6 separate regions of the Homo sapiens genome follow, and regions 1, 2, 3, 5 and 6 are each linked to region 4. Evidence: promoter capture Hi-C in 16 types of primary human blood cells and fetal thymus (Javierre and others, 2016). All regions are on one chromosome and are shown on one strand. The core of a region is centred on a gene start or on the middle of the fragment in contact, and the rest is flanking DNA. Distances in the headings are between cores, read along the strand shown.

What was found. Contacts are between HindIII fragments. The CHiCAGO score rates a contact against its expected background, and 5 or more counts as called.
Region 1: a contact is called between a fragment that was not itself captured here and the fragment with the promoter of PLCL1 in region 4, in 7 of 17 cell types (M1 macrophages, M0 macrophages, M2 macrophages and 4 more). The highest score is 13.0, in M1 macrophages.
Region 2: a fragment that was not itself captured here is called in contact with the fragment with the promoter of PLCL1 in region 4 in 15 of 17 cell types (M2 macrophages, monocytes, naive CD8 T cells and 12 more); the score reaches 69.5 in M2 macrophages.
Region 3: a contact is called between a fragment that was not itself captured here and the fragment with the promoter of PLCL1 in region 4, in 11 of 17 cell types (activated CD4 T cells, naive CD4 T cells, non-activated CD4 T cells and 8 more). The highest score is 13.4, in activated CD4 T cells.
Region 5: a fragment that was not itself captured here is called in contact with the fragment with the promoter of PLCL1 in region 4 in 15 of 17 cell types (M1 macrophages, M0 macrophages, fetal thymus and 12 more); the score reaches 15.4 in M1 macrophages.
Region 6: a fragment that was not itself captured here is called in contact with the fragment with the promoter of PLCL1 in region 4 in 1 of 17 cell types (fetal thymus); the score reaches 6.0 in fetal thymus.

What each region holds. Positions count from the first base shown.
Region 1 is chr2:198,165,966-198,170,611 of GRCh38, reverse strand. No RefSeq gene overlaps it. Among named protein-coding and RNA genes, the nearest start is that of LINC01923, 210 kb to the left of the region's middle. The HindIII fragment of the contact is 3,138 bases long and covers 332-3,469 here.
Region 2 is chr2:198,127,315-198,131,827 of GRCh38, reverse strand. All of the region lies in intron 5 of PLCL1 (phospholipase C like 1 (inactive)), which reads right to left. Among named protein-coding and RNA genes, the nearest start is that of LINC01923, 250 kb to the left of the region's middle. The HindIII fragment of the contact is 3,910 bases long and covers 129-4,038 here.
Region 3 is chr2:198,074,712-198,079,023 of GRCh38, reverse strand. All of the region lies in intron 1 of PLCL1 (phospholipase C like 1 (inactive)), which reads right to left. Among named protein-coding and RNA genes, the nearest start is that of PLCL1, 270 kb to the right of the region's middle. The HindIII fragment of the contact is 1,314 bases long and covers 1,600-2,913 here.
Region 4 is chr2:197,802,841-197,807,143 of GRCh38, reverse strand. It overlaps PLCL1 (phospholipase C like 1 (inactive)), which reads right to left and starts at 2,551. Exons shown (of 6, transcript NM_006226.4): 1 at 1,805-2,551. The coding sequence starts at 2,044. It overlaps LOC105373828 (a long non-coding RNA gene), which reads left to right and starts at 2,598. Exons shown (of 4, transcript XR_001739850.3): 1 at 2,598-3,435. RefSeq lists a silencer at 2,375-2,504. The HindIII fragment of the contact is 1,428 bases long and covers 1,531-2,958 here.
Region 5 is chr2:198,143,590-198,148,240 of GRCh38, reverse strand. It overlaps PLCL1 (phospholipase C like 1 (inactive)), which reads right to left. Exons shown (of 6, transcript NM_006226.4): 6 at 1-1,461. The coding sequence ends at 1,279. Among named protein-coding and RNA genes, the nearest start is that of LINC01923, 230 kb to the left of the region's middle. The HindIII fragment of the contact is 2,501 bases long and covers 10-2,510 here.
Region 6 is chr2:197,494,900-197,499,000 of GRCh38, reverse strand. It overlaps HSPD1 (heat shock protein family D (Hsp60) member 1), which reads left to right. Exons shown (of 12, transcript NM_002156.5): 2 at 151-326; 3 at 1,609-1,861; 4 at 3,625-3,707. The coding sequence starts at 153. Among named protein-coding and RNA genes, the nearest start is that of HSPD1, 2.9 kb to the left of the region's middle. The HindIII fragment of the contact is 1,520 bases long and covers 503-2,022 here.

The DNA of each region.
Region 1 (4,646 bases), core at 651-3,150, 360 kb before region 4:
CGGTAATTAAATGCACCAGTGGAAAAACCTGTACTGTTTGAACTAACACCATTATCTTAAACTGTTTCATTTGATTTAGTCTCAGTCTCTACAAGGATCTTAAAACAGGATGCCATTATAGGCAAATAGGAACACGTGCACAAATGAATAGGCACAAGGAAAGCCACAGGGTATAGTCCAAGTAGAGAATTATAAGGGGGCGGGAAGGCCAAGAAAGACGCCTTGGGAAACATGGTAGACATAGTGAGGTTAGGGTGTTTCCTTAGCTACAAGTGACTTTTAAGGTCCTGTATTTGCTTTACTTGCAAATAATGAAATAAAAGAACAAGCTTTTCTGGAAAAAAAAATGTATTCTTAAGTTATGGCTTTTCTTTCTAAAATCTCTTGAAAGCAAAACTTTGGTTTAACTTGAATAAGCAAGAGGTTTTGAGGAGGAAGAATCATGGTTTACACACACACTTCTCTTCAAGTAGAGTGGAGAAAGATCACTGGACCCAGGCACAACTGGTACACATTCAAGCCCTACAAGACCACCCATAAGCTGCTGAAACTCTCTAGAAAACATACTTCAATGGGTTACCTAAACTTGATTGACAACAGGTGAAATTCTACCTCGTATACTCTATAAGTTTCGGCGGGCATTAAATTCTGTGTAAGACTCAGTGTTTCCAATTAACCAAGGCAATTTCACCTTCTCCACCTCCATCACCTCCCAGAAAACACCTGTCTGTATAAAGCAGCTCCTCCTGGGAATAGTCACAGATTTCTTCCCACCCACCAACACCTTTGAATGCTTGCTACATTCCAGGGAACAAGGGACATCACTTCCCCTCCATGTGCCCCAGATCCATCCTTTGTGGAAAGAACCTTCTGCAAATGTACAGTGTGATATCCCCAGGGTACCTTGACACTGGTTTTGGTTCTCTTTGCCTGGTCAAAGTCTTTGCCCATTTCCTTCATGGATTATTTATTTTTATTAGGAACTCTTGTCATTAGCTGACAAGCTAGCTGGTATTCCCATAAGCCTTTTTAGCTCCTCTGGTAGGAGATAAGGTTACCTCACACTCCAAGTTGTCAACTCCTCCAGATCAGAGTCCATGGCTTTTTCTCTGTGCCCCCAAATTTTGTTTAATGCTTGTAAAAAAAAAAAAAGCAAATACTGTACCCAGTAATTCCTGTTAAACCAACAAGCATAGATAGGAAGACAAGCCTTCTTATGCCACTCTACATGAGTGACTAATTGCCTTGAGAGCAAAAGGTTTCCACAGTTTTGTAATCCTTCAGAAGATCTCCTAAGAATGTCCTGTAGAACCTACCTGGGTTTTTCCAGGGCTCCCAGAAAGGCTGACTCTCAGTTACCTGTTCTCACCCCTTTTTTCCATTCTGTACAAATCTCACAAGAGAGAAGCACTGCTTTCCTCACTGAGGAGTGACTAGTAGATCCAAATTTCAACTGCAGAGTATAGAGGGTTCAATAGTGTCCCCCCCCACCCAAATTCATGGCCACCTGGAACCTCAGACTATGACCTTATTTGGGAATAGAGTCTTTGCAGGTGTAATTAGTTTAGAATCTCTAGATGAGATATCCATCCCAGATTATGATGGGCCCTAAATCCAATGACAAGTGTCTCCATAAAAGAAATAATACAGAGGTTTTCAGCAGAAACATAGAAGAGCTGCAAAGAAGGCTACATGAAGACAAAAGCAGAGACTAGAGTGAGTCAGCTACAAGCCAAGGAATGCCAGGATTGCAGGGAGACTTGATTTCAAACTTCTGGCCTCCAGAACTGCAAGAGAATGTGTTAAGTCACCCTATTTGGGGTACTTTGTACAGCAGCCTTAGGAAAGAAATGCATAGAGAAACAGTCAACCTTAATATGCCCAAACCTGTCCTTCACTTTCTGCCATCCCCTTTTACCTAATCTCAGGTTCTGAGAATATAATCTGATAGACGTTGATGAAGACAGTGGGGAATAGTAAAATATCAGCTTCAGAATCAGATTGTATGCCACAAATGTGACTGTGCCATTGAGTTACACGATGTGTGCTTCTTTTTCTGGCAAAAAGTAGTACATTCCTCTCAGAATGAGATGATTCTGAGAATTTAGTGAGATGATATGGATAAGGATACCTTGAAAGTTTTAAAATAACCTAGTGTATCTTGATTAAAACTGGAACGTAGGCCCATATGTCAGAGTGATATGATGCAAAAAGAAACATTTACCAAGTTAAATGTTAATAATCTCTAAGGTGATTAAGCTAATCAGTCTTGGTCACACATTGGAATTACCTGGAGATCTTTCTAAACCTATATAAGTCCCACCCCAAACTATCCTCTGTGAGTGGGGGAGGCATTGCTAATTTTTTTCATAGTCTCCCTTGTGTAGCCTTCCAAATTTGTTTTCATTTCACCAGACACGCTTCTTTTAATAGATCATATCTACTGATGTCACCAATAATTTCCTCTCCTCATGTCCCATCATAGAAAAATGGGACAAAAGAATGAGGGCTCAGATGCAGAAAAACAGTCATACCCTGGTGACCCTTGCTAATATCCCTAACAGCACAGACACTTGGTGACAAGACACCACTGAATACAGCTTTTATCTCCATGGCAAATTTCACAGTTAAGATGGCTGAAAATAAACCCTTCTGCTTTAGTGCTTGAGCATGCACAGTGGCTGTTTATTATTCTATGATGTCTACTGTTTTGCTGTTGATGGTGTGCATGTATGTATGTGCGTGCACGTGTGTATGTGTGTGTGTTCCAGTTAGCAATGCCTAATTTGATATTTTCTATCTATCCCCATTCTTTTAGCTTATTCCAGTGCCTAGCCGTACAAAAACTTCCAATAATGCAGCATAGCAAAGCCCTTTAAACATAATCCATATTTTGCTTCCTTAGTGAAGAGGCATTGATTATCTTCCCATCTCAAGCGTGTATAACAAATAAGTCATTTCTGCAGTCACGGTGCATCATAATGCATCCCAAAATAAATATTATTAAAGCAGATAGCTTTGAATCTCAAATATAGAGCAAACCTTAAGAAAAGCTGGCAGTGTCCTTGGTGATAGAGTTGCCTGTTGCCATGGGAATGAGTCCAAAGATTCTGTGACATTTCCAGGGACCACATAAGCTAAGTGGAAAGGACTCCTTTTAGACATCAACCCTGTGCTCATATATTTACCTGGTAAAATTCTAGAGAAGGAAAAACTCAAGATGAAAGGAATATATAAGTAGTCTCTATGTGACTCAGGCATTACAAAATTTCTATCTGAATGTTCTTTTAAGTTGTTATATAAACTGTGAAAAAGCAAAATGAGAGAAAATAACAACAGACTGCCTAAATTGTAATCCCATTAAACCTTGAAGTATAATGTATGGGATAACAATATTCTCACTGAAAATACCAGTAGACTTCTCATTTTCATGTCTCTAACTCTTCCCCAAGACAAGCAGTACTAAGCTTTGCAATTCACACAATCATGAGGCCTGTAGGTACAAGTGTAGCCACTCCATTGCCTACCTTCATGCACATTTTGTCTTAATCTGGGTTTCAAATAAGCATACTAAGGATTAAGCTGACTGGTTTTGCTGCCACAGACATGGAACCAGGAAGTTATTCTGACTTGATATAACTCTGTTCTTCATCACGGAACTCATGTTTGGAAGTAGTGATGAAAGTTGGCCTAATCAGCAGTCCGTGGACACTGTGAGGTCATCGCCAAGAAATAAGTAGCTTAGTTCTGCATTCACAGGGGTAGGGAGTCATTGGCCGCACCCCTACCAGCCTGTACCTCAGGAAGGTCCATCCTTTTCCAAAAGTTGCTGCATTTTGGATATTAGGTTTAAAAAAAAGGAATTGCCTGTCTTCAGCCTCTTTTGAACTGTAAAAATGGCAATTTCCGCCTAATAAATTGTTATTCTGCTAGGCTCTACTTAAAATGCAGCTACTAAATATTTTTATTTGATATTTAAAATGCTGTATGGTTTAAAAATCTATATAATATGTATAGATGTAACTATATCACTTACCTATGCCCTATCTAACCTGGCAAAAGGAATTTATTTTTTAGACATTTCTATATTTTTTAATAAGTATCAAGTATTTACTATGTGTCAGGCACTGTGCTAAGAACCATGTGTGTGTGTTTTTAATAATTTAAGACAATAACTATGTGGTAGATAAAATTATTACCCAATTTTAAGATCAAATTGAGGCTAAAGCAGGTGGAATATTTTGTCCTAGTTCTTATAGCCCAGAAGATGTGAAGCGAGACTTTGACCTTGGGCAGTCAGACTCCAGAGCATAACCAATCAGGGTCTATGGTGCGTTGGGTCTGGAAAGGGTTTTGGGGTGCATTTAATCTAGTGCTTTCTTCATTTTTTTTAACAGCAGCAGAAAGCTGTTACTAAGCAAAACTTTATGTGGAACTCCCAGTGATAAAGCACTGGGAACAGAGCTGCCTTGGTCTGCTTGGAGAAAGCAGGGACTGTTGAGACTGACCCCACCGGGCATTTACACCTTTTTAAAATTGTAGGGCACCATTGTGTCCCTGCTTCCAGGAGTCATGCAGCAGCCCATTATGTCCAGCTGCAAGTTTTTGCTGTCTCCAGGAAACCTGTGTTATGGGAGAACTCCCCC
Region 2 (4,513 bases), core at 834-3,333, 330 kb before region 4:
TGAATGAGTCCCGTTTTATTTTAAATGAGAAATGACAGGCTTGCTACAATTTTAACCACACCATTTGATTGCTTGATAACCAAGGCAAAATAGAGTTTAAACCATGTCCTGGCTAAGGCTTTCAAGCTTCTTGCAGAGAAAACCAGAATCAGTCAAAAGGATAGAAAGAATAGGGGTTATGGCTGATGTCTGCAGTGGGAAGAATGATTAATAAGTTATGAATTGACTTTGTGACTTTGGAAATGTCCCTAACTCCTGTGGGCAGCAGTTTCCTTTTCTCCAAAACATGGGGATTTGACGAGACGTTCTTTGATTTGACCTCATATGCTAAATGTCTACTGTTTATTAATTGGGGCTCAGGTTAAAATTGCTATGTTAAAATTCATCACCTAATTGCTTACAATAATAGAGACTGTCTCGTGAAAGATAAAAAAGCAATTAAAGTGCTATGATAGTGGAATAGCAGAGTTCTGTGGGAATACGTACAGGGATACCTAACTCTGTTGAAGATGGGAGGCAGGAGAAGGTGAGGTGTCCATGAAGGCATCCTGAAGACTCCGTACCTGAGCAAACACCTGAAGTACAGATAACAGTGCCCCATGCAGTGTGAAAACAACAGGATGGGGGCTCCCAGGGAGCAGGGGTACAAGCAGGGTTACACACTTTCAAGGAAGAAGGGACAGTCCATGTGACTACTCAGCATGAAAGCATCCCTGGTGCCACTGAGGAAGTGGAGAAAGTTCCATGTGGCTGGAGTAGTGCATGGAAGAAGAAGGCAATGAGAGACGAAGCTGGAGGGGAAGGAGGGGAGCTGAGAAGACAGGCCACAATGAGTTTCAGAAGAGAAGTTAAGAAGGAGCTGTGGGAAGCCCTGGAAGGGCTTTAGGAAGGGAGAATGGCCATGACCAGCTTTACATTCAAAAAGATCACTCCAGCTCTATGCTATGGAGTGGGAAAAGGATAGAGGAGAAATGACTTTTCACTAACTCAGGTGATAAATGAAGATAACTAAGGTGACGGCTATGGGAATGGAAGTTTCCTAGGGAGGTATTAAGGAGGTTGACCCAACGGTGCTTGCTAACCAATTAGAGGTGGAGAGTTAAGAAAAGGATCAAGGATAACCCCCAGGATTTAGGTTTGGATAACTCTGAGTTGTCATTTATTCATTCAAGCAGGAATTCCAGAGGTGTCACTGAGGATAAGCAGGACATATGGATAGGGATAAGCACAGCTGGAGACATGCCGACCTTGCTGTGGCTGAGTGACCTCCCAGGTACAATGCCTGGGAGGTAATTTGATATATAAACTATATGGGAGGATGAGCAGGGATCATCAAGAGATAAAGAGAGTGACACCTGGGCCAAAAATACACACTTGAGATTTGACAGCATGGTGAAGATAATCAAAACCCTTTGCATGAACTGTGTCCCCCAGGGACAGAAGGTGGAGTGAGAAGATAGCCTAAGCTAGAACCCTAAGAAATACCAGCATTTAACAGAATAGCAGAGGAAAGGGAACCTGCAAACGATTCTGGGAAGAAAGAGTCAGAGATGTAGGAAGAAGAGAGAAGGGGGTGGTGTCCCAGAAATCAAGAGAAGCAGTGTTGCAAGAAGTGGGGAGTCAGCCTGGGAAATATCACAATATTCTATCTCTACAAAACATAAAATTAGCAGGGTGTGGTGGCATGTGCATGTAGTCCCAGCTACTTGGGAGGCTGAAGCAGGAGGATTGCTTGAGCCCAGCAGGTTGAGGCTGCAGTGAGCCATGATCATGCCACCACAGTCCAGCCTGGGTGACAGAGCAAGACCCTGTCTCAAAAAAATTAAAAAAAATAAAAAGTAGGGAGTGCTTAGCCACGTAGAATGTTCCCAACTAGTCAAAAAAGATAAAAACTGGAAAAGTGTCCATGAGATTTTGTGACAAGGTGGTTATTGGTGACCTTGGTGAGAATGATTTAATGGAGTGTCGGGGAAGAAGAAAGATTAAAGTTGGCTAAGAAGTGAGTGGGAGGTAAGGAAGTGGATTCGGCAAGTATAAACAACCCTGTTAAGAAGTTTGACTATGTAGGCGAGGAGATAGAAAGAGGAAGGAGATGAGCTGAAGGAGGGCTGAAAGTCCTTTAGAAAAGCCCGTTTGTATACATATTGTTGATGAAAAAAGCAAGCCAAATTCTGTAAAATATTTGAAGAGATTTATTCTGAGCCAAATGTGAGGACCATGACCTGTGACACAGCCTCAGGAGGTCCTGAGAACATGTGGCCAAGGAGGTTGGGTTACAGTTTGATATTTTAAATTTTAGGAGGACATAAGACATCAATCATGGTTTGGTAGGGAAAGGCAGAACAACTCGAAGCAGGAGACTTACAGGTCATAGGTGGATTCAAAGATTTTTCTGATTGGCAATTGGTTGAAGGGTTTAAGTTATTATCTAAAAAACCTGGAATCAATAGAAAGGAGTGTCTGGGCAAAGATAAGGGGTGTTGTTGGAGACCAACGGTCTTATTATGTAGATGAAGTCTTATAGGTGGCCATCCTTAGAGGCAATAGATGGCAAATGCTTCCTATTCATACCTTTAAAAGGTACCAGACTCTCAGCTAAACTCTTCAGGATCAGAAAAAGACCTGGAAAGGGAAGGGGCTTCTCTAAAGGAGGTAAATTTCCCCCACAAGAGATAGCTTTGCAGGGCCATTTAAAAATATGTCAAAGAAATATATTTTGGGGTAAAATACTTGATTTTTCTCAGGGCCTGCTATCTGTCATGTGATGCTATACTGGAGTCAGGTTGGAATTTGGTATCTTATTGCTACAAAGAGCCTACTGTGTCTTAAGATCTCTGTTTTAATTTTAAGGCCGATCAGTTCAGCCTGAATTCCAAAGGGAGGAAAGTATAATGCAGCGTATCCAATTCCCTTTTACCATTGAAACTGCCTTTGCAAAATTATGACTGAGACAGTGAAAGAGATCCAACTTAAATGACTCCATCTTGCCTCTAACCTCCAAGCTGGGCATAGGCTGAACTAACTTTGGGAAGAACTTATAGTTTATGGTTTAAAACAAGAACAATAACATCCCTTTCCTAAAATAAACCTCCTTCTTGACTACTAACAGTAGCCACAAGATTAGAAATTATGGTTTAGGAGTCATGCAGCTGGAGGCTACAAGATTCTGACCCTCCCTAAACTGCTCCTAAGATCAGTACTTGAGAAGTTTTGCAGACCCTGCACTTGACGGATCAACTGGCACCACCATATCAAGAAATTGGCCCATCTGATCCTGTGATGCCCACCCAGGAACGGACTAAGCGCAAGAAGACAGTAACGCCCCATGATTTCCTCTCCATAATTTCATCTCCGACCCAGCCAATCAGCAGTCCCTGACTCACTGCCCCTCCCCTCCCACAAATTGTCTTTAAAAACTCTGATCCTGGGGAGACAGATTGGAGCAATAATAAAACTCCAGATTCCCGCACAGCTGGCTCTGTGCGAATTATTCTTTCTCTATTGCGATTCCCCTGTCTAGATGAATCAGCTCTTTCTAGGTAGCATGAAAGGTGAACCCAACTGGGTGGTTACACCATCAGGTTCCCATCATGGCCTGAACTAGCTTTTTGGAATTTTTTGGAATCCCCTTGTCCCCATAGGACAGGTCCATTCAGTCGGTTAAGGGGCTTAGAATTTTATTTTTGGTTTACAATATAAATGCAGTTAGGCTGAACTACGAATGAAAGGAAAAAGACAAAATACAAAATGGAATGACTAAAAGCCTCTACTTCTAGTACTGATCGTTGTTCAAATTTGTGTTTCATAGCATCCTAATTTTTTTCTCCTTATTTTAGAGCCGCTTTATTTGTGTGAAGTGAGAAATTTACTCAGCAAAATAAAAAGTACATAAATTTATATGTAAGTAAATCTACCTAAACTTAAAAGTAAAAAAGCAGGGATGACTACCTCCAGAAAATGAAGATTTTTCACACTGTCCAGCAGGTGGCTCCCCTGCTTTGGACTTAGGTAGGGAGTGCCTGCTGTCCACAAAAAGCTTGTGCTCCAATGATCAGAAATGGCTTCTAAAACCATGTGGTTTATTCCTCTGCTTCCATGTAGATTTGCACCTAAGTCATTCTAAGCATATAAAAATGACCTCAAATAGATTTTGAAAACTTACCACATCATCAAAAAACATTGGTGTATCCCCAACCTGTGTAAATAGGCATTTAAATTAGAAGTAAACACTATGTACACACATTTTCAGATGGAAACTATCTTTCTTAGCAAAACCTGAAACTGTCATGCCTCTTCAAAGGGAGAAAGCATATCTAGCTATTTGCTTTCACAATTTGGTGAAAGAGAGAAAAAATGGTAACGTAAAACTATGTCCAATAAAGTTTATTTCATATAATTTAAAAAATATGTTAAAATAGCCATACCTCTTATATGTATAAGACAGTATCTTTATACTTACTGTTTGGAAAATTTTAATATACACAACTTAATCTAACATGATGTAAAGCTCTCA
Region 3 (4,312 bases), core at 1,007-3,506, 270 kb before region 4:
AATATAAATTCAGGAAAAAGTATACTGAAATTGCACAAAAAATGTGAATCTACCTAATGCTTATACACTTAGAAATGGTTATGTACTTAAGTGTACTTACACACTTAAAAATGGTTAAATTGTAACTTTTATGTTATGTATATTTTAACACACAGGGAAAAAATGCACACTGAAGCATTGTACAAAAATTTAAAAGTGAGTAAAGGAAATACCAAGCCCAAGCTTCCCTGCCTTTGACCTCATGAGCATATTTAAATATCTAATTATATCATCACATATACTTTTTGGTGTTTTGGCAAGTTTTTTTTAAGCAAACAGTTCTAAAATGATTCTTTGTTAGAACAAATTTACACAACTCTAAAGACTAGAAATCAAAACACCAGTTGTCAAACTGTGATGAGAAGGAATCTTTGTTTCATAACACTGAACTCCAGCTACATAGTGTAAGGGAGGGAAAGATTTATATTTGAAAAGTTCTCTTAAGAAATTATTAATAAAAATTTAATAGATTATACTAAAAGATAAGCATATAGGCACATAGGTTTGATTTTCACCATACAGACCCTATCTGTTCATATATACAACCTATACACTATAAAAATATGCTATTCATTCTGGTTTTGTGAAGTTCCAAGCAAAACTGAGAAACAAAAATTTGGTTGATACATGACATTCTCAAAGGATGGTAGACAATATACAATCTAGAATCCAGATAACTCCAACCTTGGATACTGAGAAGCCTCTGGTCTTATTCTTCATTTATTCATTTGACAAACAAGAATAGGTACCTACTCTGTGACAAAGTCTAGCACATTACAGAGTTTGGAGGAAACTGATAAGGTTTCATTTTTATCTTAGATATATCACTCTGCATATGTGCTAAAGGGATTTGATACGGACAAAACTGAAGATGGTACATTAGATGACTATTTCATTCAGCATTACAATAAAGAGATAGTGATGGCCTGAGCTAGATTCCTAATAAAAAGGATGAAGGTATTAGGTAGATTAGGAAGGTATCCTAATAAAAAGGATTCCTAATAAAAAGGATGAAGGGATTAGGTAGGTTCCTAATAAAAAGGATGAAGAAGAGTGGGAAATATCAAGAAACATGAGGTAAAACAACTTCTTGACTGAGTAAAGGATGACTTCTAGGTTTTTGGTTTGAGTGAGAAGTGAGTGGAAATATTACTAAATGAGGTATGAAATATCAGGGGAAGTGAAGTTGAAGTGGAAACTAAGTTTACTTTGGGCCATGGTGGATTTTACATGACTATGGGCCATCTAGGTGAAGTTGCCCAATGGAAAGTTGGATATATGAGTCAAACCTCCAGGGAGAAGTCTGGGCTGCAGTTTCAGTGTTGGAAGTTATACCCGTAAAGGGATAAATAGAACCTTGAGCATAGTACAGTCACCTATTAAATAAAAGCAGTTAGAGATGAGCTAAACCCAGAGGAACACCAGTATTTAGAGGCTGGGCAGGAGAGAAGACCTAAAAGAAAAGAAGAGCTGAGGGGTAAGAAAACCAGGAGAATGAGCTTCCACAGAAGCCAAGACTAAAAGGAAAGCGTGTTGGAAATTAAGATCTGAAGATAAGCTTACTGAATTCAGCAGTTAAGCAGTTACTGCTAACTTGGGCAAGAGAATGTCTTATGTTCCTTTTTTTTTAAATTATTATTATTTTTTATTATTATACTTTAAGTTTTAGGGTACATGTGCACAACGTGCAGGTTTGTTACATATGTATACATGTGCCATGATGGTGTTCCTTTTAAGATGCCTAGGATAGAGAACGAAATGAGACCCAAACTGCTGCCATGACAAGACTGAGAGTAAAGGGTTCCAGGGAAGGAACAAAAGTCCTTCAGTGGGAAAGACAGCCAGGATGGCTACTACCATATACTAAGTGAGATAAAGTGGCCCCAAATGAGACCGAATAACAGGCAGAGGCAGAGAGTAATAAATCCAGGAGAGGGCTATCCTCAAAAATGTTGGCTCCACTAACCTGGATTGTGATCACAGAATGGAATTCAGTTCTGATGCATACATTTTGCCTTTCCAATGGGCCTATGCTCAAAATCACATCCATGTTTGGCAGTTAAGTGTTCTGGAGAAAACCCTTACCCATACACAAGGCCTAACAGTTCACACAAAATTCAAGATGGTGGGAGAGATGGGATCATCACTGTATCTGTTGCCTTCAAGTTTCAGAAAAGGGAAGTCTGCAACTATAGAATTATACCATTAATTTCACGTTAAATTTTCCCAAGTTTTATTCCCATGGTCAACTCCAGTTACTTAATGCAGAGACACAAACAGGTGATGCACTTATTTATGGTTAATACCATGTGACTTACCCAGGGTCACTGTGATGCAGTGGGAGTGGAGGTCCTAATGGCCACTATTGAGAAGTAGCTGAAGCATAACCCAAGTAAACCACTGGCCTTCCCTAGTGGGTCCCTTATTGGTAAGGATCTGAACAGTTATTTTATGATCAATAAAAAAAGCATTTATTGTCTACACCATCTTCTAAGTCAACAGAATTAATTAAAGGCAATGCTAAGTGTATGCATGCAAGTTTCTCTAGCCAAATTAAGTTCTATGTCTGAATTTACCATTAAATTTTATTTATAAAAGGTGATTCATTTAATAAAACGCACTAAAGCCATCTCCTTTAGGAAACCCACACTGATATATACGCTGTGGTGGGGATGGGATACTAATTAAAATATGGGCAGCCAGTGACCCTCTAAATTTTACACATCTTCTCTGAAATGACTCTCTTCACTTGGAAGCAAAAATAATTGATGTTCTACAGGCAAAGCTAGTGATAGAGTGCTGAGAAAAAAAAAAGAGTCCATTTCAGAGTGGGTAGTTAGTACCATTGATTTGTTTTTGTAAACAGAAGAAGCTTCCACTGTGCTGTACCTCACTGCAATCATTTGCTCATTAGAACTCATTAAGAAGGGACAATCTAAATAAAAGTGATTATCTCAAGCTCTTCTTCTGTATAGTTTCCATCCAGTTAGGGTTTTTCTGCAAGAATGATTCTTATTATACACATCCAATGGATTATTTCAAATACAACTTCCATTTACACAAAGATTGACTGAGCCCCTACTCTGGGCTATGCATTGTACAAGTGATTTGTTCTTTAAAAAATCATTAATCCCAACACTAATGTTGTCCGGAATAAATTTTAATGTATGAATGTTTGTAGCTAATTAAATCAGTAAATAAGAACAAAGATCATCAAATTTAATAATTAGAGCAAAATGTATAAAGAATGTTTCTAAATAAACAATAAAAACAGCTTTAAATAACATTAAAGATGTTCATGAGCCAAGCCCACAAGGGAGCATAAAAGGCTGATGAGGCCTATTAAACAGAAGTACTACGTCCTTTGTAGTGTCAGCTGCTTTCATGTAAAGGCCTTGTCTCTTATTTTAATCTTGTCATTCTCCTCTTGTATCCTTCCCAGTCCACTGCTTCGTACGCAGTTATGAGATACGTGAACTTCCATTTCTCTAGTCAACAACATGGTCCTTTTCACTAATCCCACTGCTGCATGCAATGCGTAGTTTTGTTAATACTGTGCTTTAGCTGCGTCAATTTGAACAAAATGAGGGTGACAACAATAAAGGTCATCTGACGATTTATTCAGCAGCCTCTGAGGAACGACTTGCGGCTATCAGTCCTGTCCCTCTAAGACAGATGTCTGCCTCATCCTCAAAAACAATACATTTAAAATTAATAGGTAGCCTGCGCAACTCTTAGCAGAAGTGCCAAGAACCAAGTGGGCTTGGAGACCGAGATACGATTCTGTCCTTCCTCAGGAGACCCCTGCACAGCAGGGCCCAGGAATCCTGGCGGAGCTTATGCCAGCACTGACTGTTGTTTCTGGTGTGAGGATTAATTCGATGTTCTCTTGATGGAAAACAGGATGTCATGTCCCTTTAAAAGGAAAGTCAATGATGAAGTCTAGCTAAATGTATACCTTTAATACCTACATGGCTAATACTTCTCTTTCAATGTATTGTTATAAAGATTAAATGTAATGCTCCAATTATTTCACAGGTATAAACATATAACTTGATGCTTAATTAGGGCATTCATCAGAAAATTATATGTAATTAGGTAGGCCTTCAAATAGACGCATACTTTTATATTTTATTCTAATTAATGTTGCACATTTACTTAAAATACTTTATCTGAAAAATTAAAATATCAACGGGAATAAGACATTATTAAATAGAGTTCATGTCACGAACATTCCTGACAAAATTTCCCACCTCTCTTTGTGTCCTATGTA
Region 4 (4,303 bases), core at 1,302-3,801:
CTTTTCCAATAAAAACCTAACATAATAATTCACTTTATTTTCTAATATCTTTAATTTTAAAGGCCATTTACCAAATGTTAATTGCATTTACTATTAAATAGGGGAAAAATCAAGTTAATATTCTGTTGTCTCCCTCCTTTTTTGTCACAAAAAGAAACTTCAAAACAAAAGAGGCACCATTACTCAGCAATGACCCTTCTGAGAATATAAACCAGCATAGTACAATTCACAAGTGGCAAACTCAGTTGCAAGAATTTGTATATTCCTTATACTCCATTACTTTTGTTTTTTACAACATTATAGAGCCGTTTGCTCTTTATTGTCATATATTTTAAAGTCTCTTGCAGTGCCTGTTTTACACACACAGGACACCATGTAGTATCAATACAGTAGAATCCAAAATGTATGTGTTTCCTAATTGTGATGTTTTTTAAGTTTGAAAACAGTGTGCTTTCTGACCTGTGGGTTAAAAACAAAATAGTAATTTCCCTTTGTCCAAATTCACACCCAGAATAGAACACTCCTGTTACATAATCAAAAAGCCACAAAATAACAGAAACTACTACAAGCCATTTGTAATTACCACCCACTCTTCTTTATATATTATAGAAACCTCTCCACTGATTTTAAACTTCCATGTGTCAGTGTTGGGAAAAAGACTTTACTGGAGCCACATTCTGTGGTTAGTCTACCTAAGCTGGTGCTGGGAGCTTGCAACATGCGTGATGCACTGGTTACGCAGCTTAACCCTGAACAGAGCTTTTGAATATATTAGTGAACCCAATAAATTCAATAGTAAGTAAAAGTCCATCTTTCATTGTCATTGAGGGATGTGTGTGTGTGTATGTACACACACACATATATACTTACATATATACATACATACATATCGTTTTATACTGACTGCTCCACCAAAATCAATTTTAATCTGACATACATTTGATTGATTACTCACATGCATTTACACTGAGGCCCTTTTCCAGAGCCTGTGCGAGGGTTCTTTCCTAAATAACCTTACCCCAAAGTCATGCTCCCAAAAGAGGAAATCTCGAACAGAAGAAACAAGCCCCAAGTGGAAGGAAGATGGAAAGAGAAAGGGGAGGAAAGAGGTTTACAAATTCCTTGCCAAATGGATGGAGAGAAATTCTGTGAGGTGATTAGCGGGTCAGGAAGCGTTTTCCCTGGATGTGGTGGTAACCACAAGGACCAGTGATAATGCTTGGGGGATTGATTGCTTTCCGGTTGTGCTTTCTGCAGCGCAAAAACTCTGGGCTCTTGCATTGCTCTTTACTGTGATGCAGGGTCCACTTAAAACTCTGCCTCCCTACCGGGAAAGTTCACACATCTTGGGATTTCGGGATCATTTAAGTCTAGAGGGATTCTTTTTTTACACTTGAGAGTAAGCTGTGCATTTTCTTCATTGTATGGGAAAAGCTAACCCTTCATTGGAAAGCAATGCACAACCATCCGGTGGGTCTGCATTTATCCAGAGTTCTCCCTTCCTCCCTCCATCAACGGTTTAGTGAAGCTTGCAGAGAAAATGAGGGAAAGCATCCATCAGAACGCAAAGACGCAGAGCGGAACTTTTCCTCTGCCGTCAGTGGGGAGAAAAAGTCACTTGTGCGTCTCGTGGCTGACAGCTGAGTCTGGGAACCTCCGGATAAGGAAGGAAGGTTTGGCGTTGAAGGAGGTGGGAGAAAACAATGCTGAGCCCGGATGCCTCCGGACACCGCACATCCTGCCCGGGTCCCTGACCCACCCATCACCCACAGCCACGCTCCCGGTGCGGCGCGGCTTTGCTTACCTTGATGATGCTGCTGCGCCGGGGGGTCGCCCGTGCTGCCTCCAGGAGGCCCGCCTCGCTGTCCGCTGGGGTCCCCGCGGCGCCTGGCAGTGCGACCCCGCTGCGACGGTCCCTCATCCGGCCCCCAGAGGCCGCCGTCACGCAGTCCCCGGCGGCATCCGGGCCCACTCGGGGGTCGTCTTCGCCCCCCGCCGCGTCGGGCGGCGCCGGATCCTCCCTGCCGGCCGCGCCCTCGGCCATGGCCTGGAGCGTTTAGGGCTCCCCGGGGGAAAGCGGGACGCCCGGCAGCGGAGTCCAGCCGCTAGGCACCGGTGCGCTCCTGCACCGGGAGGCGGCCCCGCCAGACTTTGTTTCACCGCCCAGCGGCGGCAGTGGCGGCGGCGGCGGCGGCGGCGGCAACTTTCTGGAGAGGGGACATCGCTCGGGCAGAGACGTCCTCGGGCTTCGGTCTAGGAGGCTAGCAGTCCGGCGGGGGACGGTGGCGGGAGTGGGGAGGCGATGTGAGCGGGAGGCAGAAGGAGAGGCGAAAAAGAGAGGGAGGTATCCGAAATGTGATGCAAACGCCGGCCCTGCGCCAGACAAAAGGCACCGGGCGCCCAGCCAGGCGGCCTCTGGAGCCCGGACGCCGGCGGCCCGATAGGGGCCAGAGCCGGGCGACTGCGGCCGGGCGCACCCGCCACCTGCCCGCGGACTGCGGCGCAGCGGTCCCAGGAAGTGCGGCGGCGGCGGCGGCCTCCACTCAGCTCTGTTGTGACAGGGAGGGAGACTTGTTTTGACAGCCCTTGGGGATTGGCAGGCGTCTGGGCCTCTTAGGAGCCTCGCCTCGCCGAGGGGGCTCGGCCCGACCAATCCTCACTGCGGAGGGGTGTGCCCGAGCGCGAAGAATGGAATGTGTTCTGCAACTGGGAGCCGGCCCAGCGGGGCTAATGTACTCGAGCCAGGGTGTACCCGCGCGCGCGCGTGTGCAAACCCGGAGGCGCTCCGTGTATATTTTAGGAAGTTTAGATTTGCGAAATGAGCCTGAGATGCAACAAAAATCCAGGTTGGGTGAAGGAGAGGGGAGAAAGAAACCTTCTTCTGCCAAACAAAGCAATTTGGAGGAAAGTGGGTATTGAGTATGAATGTCTAAGCGTTTGGGGTGACGGGGTGAAGCTTTGCGTGGTCACAGGTTAATTGCAGGCTCTCAGGCCAATTCTTAGAAGTCAAGTCCATGCAGAGATAAACTAGGGTTTACTGGGATCTTGGGGTTCCATAATTTGCTTCAGGTTCCAGGAAAGGATTCTAAGGTCATTCTGCAGTGTGAGTAAATATAACAAGGAAAGGGAGTCAGTGAAAGAGATGAGGGTGAAAGGAAACTGAACCAACTAAATCCCTCCGAAGACTGACTCTTAAAAAGCACAGATATAATCCAAGTCAGATAAATGCAGGTGGGGAGTTTAGTCTCTATCCTAAAACATTCCTATTTGACAATGGTTCAGCCTCCTTTCTCTATATAATCCTATATAAAAACATATTTTGCTCATTTCCAGTAAGCTAGCAACCAAGAAGGGAGAGATCTTTGGATGATGAGTTAAGTCACTGAAATTATCCACAGAATGCTCAGATGCAAACCATGGTCCTAAGGCTCCCTGGTAAGACAAAAGACTTGGCATTTTAATTTTAAACTCCTTTGATATTAGAATCTATATTAAACCTCACTTATAACATTACATTTTATCTTATTAATAATTTAATAATTTGAGATTTTACTTGTTCCTTAGTCTGGCTAACAGCATGAGAAATTATTCAGCATTTTAGACCAACAATTTGGTTTGAATCTCATAATTTTAGAGATATATGGGGATTTAGGGATCAACTAGGACATCATTTTTGTTTTACGGTTGAGACAAAGGCCCAGGGAGTCTTGTCTACTAGTTAGTGCAGGAGCCAAAATTAGAATCAGCCACCCAACTCCTCCGATAATCTCTTCACTACTTTATCTGTCTCCTCTGGGCTACAACCAGCCAGAACTGGCAGGGGCACTTGGGAGGTTTCAGATTTGACATTTATCAACTACTAGGGAATACTGAGAAGGCTTGACTTTGCCTTTTCTTTAAACATAAATGCAGCCTAGTAATGAATGTACTGTAGAGAGTAGCAGTGACCTCTGGTTTTAGAACCAACACCACCCTCTAGTGAGATTCTGAGAACTGCATCCATAACAGCAAAGGCTTCTTTTTCCCCCTCATCTTTAAAAGACAGGAGGGGTAACCCAACAAAAGTTTCCTTTTCAACAGGTATGCCTTTACAACGCACAGACTAGAGGAAGAAAATAAAGTGTACCCAGACTTAAAACAACCATACATGTCTTCCATCTCCTTTAGTTCAGGGAATTCCTGTCTATGCTATATAGGAAATATTTTTAATTGCTATCCTCAGAAATATATCTTATTTTAGGCTATCATTTTTTTCTTTGATATTCAACTATTATTACATTTGACTTCTGTCATTTACAGTTGT
Region 5 (4,651 bases), core at 11-2,510, 340 kb before region 4:
TAAGAAGCTTTTCAAAATAAAAGCAATGCTTTAAATAAATATATTCTTTCATAACCATAGAACATTTAGTTCTGTTGGAGGTAACAAACATTACACTCAAGTACTTTATGAAGACATTAGGGTAAAAATTACCTAGATGCAATTATAAATGTACCCTAATTAGTCATTTCTTTTTGCATGTATGCTTTTCTGTGTGTGTTAGGGTTATATCATAGATGTGTGGTAACTGGTTAGCTCTTAAATTATCACAAAGATATTATCGGACCCACAGAATTTATATCAGCTCAATGTGATGATATGATATTGTTTGAACAATATCTTTAAATTTAAATTTAGTACCCTAAATTACATCCAAACAAAGCCAACACCTCTAAGCTGCCATATCTGTTATAGAAAATGAGTGCTAGACTCTCAGCTTGGAAGAATGAGACCTTCCTACAAATCTCGAAATTATACAACAATATTATTGTCACATCAAAATCCTAATTGCAACAGAGCTTTCAGTGTGTTTCAGAGTACCACACAGGTAGGTATAAATTCACTTATGATCAGCTTTTCTAGTGAAATCATATGTTTAGTAAATGACTACAGAAAACTTCCTAAAAATTGATTTTATTTAATAAATATTTTTTAAAGTTTTCTGACTGAAGAAATGACCTTGCTAATCTTTTTAGAAATTCTCATCATCTGTTTAATCTTTCATTCACTTTTATTTCTACTCTGATTCTTAGGAATTTTTCTAATCTATATTTAATCTACCAAAACATCTATGCTTTGATAAATTTGGCTTCCTTCAATAATAAGCTATGCTAAGATCACTAAATTAAATGTCAAAGGCAGAGAAGTCAAATTAAACACAGCAACAGGTTACAGTAAGTGCTCTTTAGAATTTCAGATTAAAACAATTGTCCCAAAATGATCAAGGAATAACTCACTAAATGAATAATGCAACACAGAATAGATTTTAACAGAATTTCTCTCTCTCTCTCTCTTTCTCTCTCTCTGCCACACACACACACACACACACACACACACACTCTTCCACAGGCATCCACACAGGGGTGTTGACACATGTCTCAGAATTTAAAACACTGATACTAAAGGCTTTAATTTAGATAAATTAACTACACTGAAATACTGACATTGTGAAAATATCTATGTCCAATACCCCATATAGGGCACCATTTTGTGAACTTATAAAACATTTAAAGAAAGAAAACAAGAATGAGAAACCAGAGTCCTTGATAAGATGGGTGAACGTGTCGATAATGCCCAGAGTCACAGCTTCCCATTCTCCTCACTACTTTCCTTCTCCTCTATGGCTTCCAGGCTGCGCTTGCTCTTGGCCTCAGCACTGCTGCTGGGGGCTTTACTCAGTCCACAGGACAGGCATGCCAGCTGGATCTGCTTCATGTTTTCTATAGCTTCATTCTTGGCATTCTTCAACAGATCTCCTTGGCCCTACAAACAGAAAAAAACAGGCATCAAAGAAGACAGTTATGGGCCAGGCATGTGCTGAGTGACATCACTCTATGTTCTTACTGCCCATTGCTGAATAAGGAAACAGACCCAGACCTGCAAGCTCACTTTTCCAGGGTTTAACCCAAGGTTCTTTTCTAACATTATTAAGTGACTTTGCTTGTTAAGCCAAGTACCTCAACCTGAGCCTGACCAGCTGGCTATGCAATTGCTGGCAGTCCGTTGAGATTCCTATTGTGAGGAATCCTCCTCTTTATGTGCTGAGGACATCAACTCTTCCATCACCATGGTCTGAGACTCTGCACACTGCTGCAATACCTACCCCGCCCAGATCCAGCATTCCTAGTCTTGGGAGAAAACAAGGAAAGAAGCTCTTCCTTAAAGAAGTGAAAATAAAATCTCCCCCTCTGTACAAGAGCTTACAAAGCAAAGTGTCTTCTGTAAAGTAAGTCACATACCCTTATGCTTGGTGAGCTGGTTTTTAATATACTGGGTCATCCTTGCAATCTGCCTGTTGTTAAATTATCAGTCACCCACATTACTTCTGCCTTTTCCATCATCCTGAAGATGATGTTCCCACCTGGCAGATGGAGAAAAAGAGTCTCCAGAGGCAAAACAAAAAGGAAATGAGGATTGCAGGAACACATTAGCTGTCATTTACATCAGTGCCCAACAGAGATCTTTTCCTGCTATTTTTATTTCTTATTTTAGTTCACTGTTATGAAGATAAAGTGCGTATACTGATACTGGCCCAAGGGCTGAATGACTGAGTGTGGGGAAGCAGGGACAGGTGTCTATGGCCCATAGACAGAGGAAGAAGTAGCTTCTTCCCTCTCCTCTCCATTCTCATGGCAGTGCCTGAAAGTGTGACCTTGAAAGGACAATATGGGTGGATATGGGGTTATGACGATTGCTGGAGCATTATTCTACAAAGCAGAGGCTCAGAGAAAGGATAATTTACCTATTTTATGAAAGGCCAGTAAATGCTTTTTCCTTAGGGTGTATGAAGAAACTTGTATTTTACAAAAGCTTGGAATATTTTATTTCTCAAAACCTAAATATGCACTTGCCAATTCTATCCTCTGTAAAAAATAGCTAAATCCTTCTAATAGCAGCTTTTAATTATATGGGATGATTAAATAGTTGGGCTTTGCCTGATGTTTGTGTTAAAGCGAACTTCTTCTCAAGTACATCAATTATGGTATGGGATTTTGGAAGAAGAGTTGGAGGTGGACAGTTTTGCCTTCTCCTGAGGAGAAATGAAGCTGAGCCTGATGAGGTTAATTGACTGTCCCAAGGTCACAGCTGGTTAATCGCTGAGCTGGGACTAAAGTTCAGGCCTTTGGCCTCCTGCATCAATGCTCTATTCCCCACACCATGTTTACAATCTAGTCTGAGACTAAAGACTAGAGATTAGAGCCTAAAGACTCTGTCAGTGAGAGATGTATTTTCTAAAGAAAAAATATTTACTACACCAGCAGACTTTGGGAAGTCTGTTCTTAACACTATAGACATCACGAATGAGTCTGCTCAACAAAACTGCACATTCTGCACATGTATCCCAGAACATAAATTTAAAAAAAAAAGTGAAGTCACATCCACTTTGAAAAGTGCAACTCTTCAGTAATAATAATAACAGACCAACATATGAAGTGCTTGCTCAGTGTGGTCACTCTTTGTGCTTTATACATGTTCATTCAATCATTCATTACAACATCCCTATGAGATGGGTACTTTCATTATTCTCAATTTACTGATTAAAAAAACTGAGGCCCAGAGCACAGTCACCCTTCCCAAAGTCATACAGCTGCTAAGTGGTAGAGCTGGAGCTTAAAATCCAGCAGCTGGCTCCGGGGTCTGTGGTTTTAACCACTACCTGATAGGCATCTTTTAACAGCAAAGCAGGCACTCTCTGCAGGGCACCCTAGAGACTCCTATTCATTGTTACCCATGGAAGCAACGCAGATAAAAAGAAAAGCATTGCCCATGTGACACAGCCTGACACAATTTAGAGATAGCATCCAGAATCAGGAAGACAGGGCAGAGCAAGAACACACTAGCAGGGACGAGGGTTGGAGCATCTTCAACCAATTTTTATCTGGGCCATTTTCTCTTCTGCAAAAATGATGAAAATATCCTTCAGCCTTCCTTACAGTTCTAAGATTAAAGACAATATGTTGAAGAGCTCTTTATGATTTAAATGATCATAAGTATAGGAATCACAATGATATAAGGTGATTTAGAAAGTGGTTAACATTATCTGCTACTATATATAATAAGTATCTTGGTACTATCTATATTTTATTAAAAATTTGACTAACATTTAAAATGCATCTACCAGAGTCTGTTTTACAGAGATATGTATAATGTATATGTACTACTATATTTTTAAAGGAATCTTTCCATTTATAAAAAATCTATTAGTAATGAGACTATATCCTCCTTCATTTTCAGAGTATTACTTTTAAGTGTTCCCTTTTCATTTAGTTTTGAAAGTTTCATCAAGAATTTTAAAAGCATAGCAGTAGCAAAACTGGCAACTTTCCTAATTGCAAGAGAACAGTGAAACGTACAAAAACATCATTTTATCCTACTAACGCATAAAATTCTCACATCCCCTTTTCCCACAGCATGGCATGAAACATATTTTAATAATCCAGAATGTCATCTCATTGGTTCTAAGAGGTGGCATCCAAATGCCAGACTGTGCCATTTCTGGTAAATAGAAGTCAGTCTCTGTAGAAAACAATGGCCAATGGGAGGAAACAGTTTGTACCAGTGCATAACTAACACAACTACATCATCTCCTGATAACCCTGGAGACAACACACACTGGCTGTACCATATAGGCAAGAAAAAAAAAAAATAGGTAAACTATTAACTAATAAAAGAAGCAAAACTGAAAGGCTGTGTTGTGAAGAGTGTACATTGAAACATGATATAAACTTCTGTTTTCTCTTTTTTTATGAAGGAGGAATAGCAGTCATCTTTCTGTTCTGTGGTTCCAGGAATCACAACCTGCATCTCTTCTTTGGGTCTTCCGAATCAAGGCACCAGAATCAGAAAAGACACATTCTGGTGAAAATTGTAGAAGGTGAATTTGATTGTTAACAACCACCACCCTGGCATTTTCCCTTGGCATGCTGACTTTTTTCCCATTTTATATGCAGCA
Region 6 (4,101 bases), core at 13-2,512, 310 kb after region 4:
CGGCGCCTTCCGTCATTCAGGCGTAGTGGCTGGCGGAGGTCAGCCAGGCTCAGCATCTCACGTTGCTTGCTCTGTTGCACAGGTGGGCATGTTTGTTCTGCAGCGCACCACGGGTGGTAGTTCTGATGATCTTTTTGCTTCCATCCCCAGAAATGCTTCGGTTACCCACAGTCTTTCGCCAGATGAGACCGGTGTCCAGGGTACTGGCTCCTCATCTCACTCGGGCTTATGCCAAAGATGTAAAATTTGGTGCAGATGCCCGAGCCTTAATGCTTCAAGGTGTAGACCTTTTAGCCGATGCTGTGGCCGTTACAATGGGGCCAAAGGTACCAGTATTTTTATTTTATTGTAATTACGGTATTATTAATAGCATTTTACTCACAAATAGTCGCACTGAACTATTCAACAGTACTTTCATCTCCATTTTTGAGAGAACTCAGTTTACATGTAAGAATTCTGAAGTATTGGTTAGCCTTTTTTTCTTAGACATGATCTTAAAGCTTAAACTGCTTCAGCCAGATTTTCGAAACTATTTTGTTCAATGTGTGATGTAATCAGGTAGTAACTTACAGCTCAAGGTGGATTCTTAAACTCGAGGTAGAATTTCGCTGGCTTAAGTTAAAATTTGGATCCTTTCCCAGTAGTTCATGCCAAGTGTAGAGAGAAGAGTTTAACTTATCTTCCATAATTCCTTAGGTATGTGCTTGTAGATGCTAAATTTTTTTTTGGTTTATTGTAGTAAAATGTACACAACATAAAATTACCATTAAGTGTGCACTTTGGGGACATCAATTACATTTATGTTGTGCAGTCATCACCACCATCCATCTCCAAAACTTTTTATATGGAAAAATTGTAACTTTGTACTCATTAGACAGTAGCTTCCCATTCTCTCCTCCACCCCAAGATGCTAGTTTTACCCATCGGTTTTCTGCTGTTCTCTTGTTCCAAAGCATATTTAAAATAAGTCTCATTTAATAGGGGTAATGTTTTGAGGAGGCCTTTGAAGGTGGTGTGCAGTCAAGTGGTGCTTCATTTCAGTTTGAAGACAGTTCAGATATCAAGTGATCCAACAACTGCCTAAAATACAACATTTGCACACCTCACAAATAGAAAGTAGCAGCTTTAGTTCAAATCCAAAGGATGGCCAATAATTGTGCCATGGTTGAAGTTTTATGTTGCGTGAACCTGGAAGAGCACGCTACTTGCCTTGATGGTTAATATTTTAGTTAAACGGATTTTAAAACAAGTCACATTACTTTAAAAGATAACAGGCACTAACTAAAGTATAAGTGATAGGAAGATTGTTTTATTCTTTGTCTTGTGTTCTTGTTCATTTTATAAGATGACAAGTTTTAGTCCCTAGGATTTTAATCTCCTAAATTACCTAGTTCAAAATTATGCTCTTGGCAGAGAATCAGGTCATTTTGTCTGTAGACAAAGAATGTCGATAAACTTGCCCTTGAGGTTCATGCTGCAAGACTGATAAAAATGACACAACTTACGTTGAGACTTTGAAGTAGTTGCTTTATTATGAAGACTGCTCATTTTTAAAAATGTAAATCATCCTTAGGGTATGTCTGATCCTGTTACATTTTTTTCTTCTAGGGAAGAACAGTGATTATTGAGCAGAGTTGGGGAAGTCCCAAAGTAACAAAAGATGGTGTGACTGTTGCAAAGTCAATTGACTTAAAAGATAAATACAAAAACATTGGAGCTAAACTTGTTCAAGATGTTGCCAATAACACAAATGAAGAAGCTGGGGATGGCACTACCACTGCTACTGTACTGGCACGCTCTATAGCCAAGGAAGGCTTCGAGAAGATTAGCAAAGGTGCTAATCCAGTGGAAATCAGGAGAGGTAGGAATGTCTGTTGTCACCACAGTGTTCTAAACTTCAGTGTGCTTTAAGGCATTGATTCCTTGGACCTAAGGAAAGTGTTAACTTGAGGAAATTAATCCTTCTCTCATTCCTCCTCTTGGCCTGGAGAAATCTTAAACTGGGTTTTCCTTTAGCAAGCTTGGCTGTATGGTGGGTAGGTACTGTTAGGTAATTTTGATATTTTACTTAGTTGGTTTCTTTTGTTTTTAGAGACAGGGTCTTGCTCTGTAGCCCAGGCTGGACTGCACTGGAACTCCTGGGCTCAAGCAATCCTCCTGCCTCAGCCTCCAAGTAGCTGGGACTACTACAGGCACTCACCACCATTCCTGGCTAATTTTTAGTTTAGTTTTGTAGAAAGTAAGACTAAATACACTGGATCATTCAGAATGTCAGAAAGTAATGTTTTCCTCAGTTTATTTTTTCTTAATAGCACACACCATGTTATTGGTTTGTGTTTTGTTAGTGCTTGTAACTAGAGTGCAACTTAATTAACAATTTGCTCCTCCTCATGAGGTTCATGGCAGTATAGACTTAAATTCTAGTCCCATGTTTGTCATTTATTAGCTGTGTGCTAAGACTTGGTTTTCCTATCAGCAGAATTGCTATGTATATCTAGGGTATGTTAGGGTTCAAACCAGGAACCCTCTTGTAAGTGAAGGTGGGGGGAGCTATTGGTAATTTTTTGTCAGAATTGGCATACTAATTTATTACTACATTACTAATGTATCATTACCTCATCTATTTCAGTGTTTATGGGCCAAGTGAATATACTTCACTAAAAGCAGTTTTACTGTAAATCACTAACAAGTATTAATTAAGGTTATGAAGAGGACTTACCAGCACCTTGCATTGGATTTTTTTTGAAGTAACAGTTCTCAAACAAGAGAGCTAGCACTATTCCCAATTGAGCAAAATGGGACTATTAAGACTGATGTAAAACAAAAATATTTTGTTAGTTCATAATACGTACTAAATTGAGGGGATTTCAGATAATTGACACCTGCAGAGGCATAGTCACAACAGATTCCTATCATTTAAGAACTGTACTTCTTGTTGAAAATAAGGGAGTGTTAGCCATTTTGGTCCTTTTTTGCATCATCTAATGGACATGAGAAGTGTCGTGGACCCTATTGGAAACAGCATGATTGGGTTAGGAATTTGCATAGGATGAGTTCAGTGGTGAGACTTTTGAAACTACACACATCTACCTTGTTTTAGTCCTATTTTCAAAATTTTGGCATTGTGAGATTTTATTTACTGTGTGAACCTAAAGTTACTGTTTAAGTACATGCCACGCAACTCTGTGTTATTAAGAAGCACTGTCTCAGAAGCTGTGTGTAAATTTAATATTAAGGCACTAAAGACCAAGCATAGGTACATGCCTGTAGTCCCAGCTACATGGGAAGCTGAGGTGGGAGGATTGCTTGAGCCCAGGAGTTCAAGACCACCTTGGGCAACATAGTGAGACCTTGTCTACAAAAATAAAAGAAGCTGAGCATGGTGGCTTGAGCCTGTGGTCTCAGCTACTCCCTTGAGCCCAGGATGTCAGGGCTGCAGTGAGCCATGATCTGTGCTACTGCACTCTAGCCTGGGCAGCAGAACAAGACCCTGTCTCAAAAAAAAAAAAAATTTTTTTTTTTAAGTTAAGGCATTAAAATATTTGTCACAAATCTCAAGATTTCTACTTGACATAGAAGCCATGAGAGAAATAAACATTGTAATGACATATATCGTTGAACTAGGTGTGATGTTAGCTGTTGATGCTGTAATTGCTGAACTTAAAAAGCAGTCTAAACCTGTGACCACCCCTGAAGAAATTGCACAGGTAAGGACTTAACATGTTACACGTTTTTTAAAAAAAATTTAATGGCATGTGTGATTTTTTTTTTCCCTTGATCACACCAATGTCAGAATAACAATACTACCCAATCATCAATATTAGAATCATTGTTTCTTACTGCTAAAACCTTTGAAAAGAATTATGACCATAATGGTTGTCATTTAGTTCTACATGTGGTTGTCATTTTAGTTCTACATGGCTGTAAAATGGATTCATATGATTGTGAAAATGTTCTTAGCCATTGTCAAAGGTGCATAAGTTTTGTCAGTTTGTAATGAAGTCAGCATTTTTAAACTTTTTGTTACAAGAATAGTTTTATGTATCATATTCTTCAAAACAATGTAGTCAAATAATGAATCGGAAAAGAGCAAAGAACCAG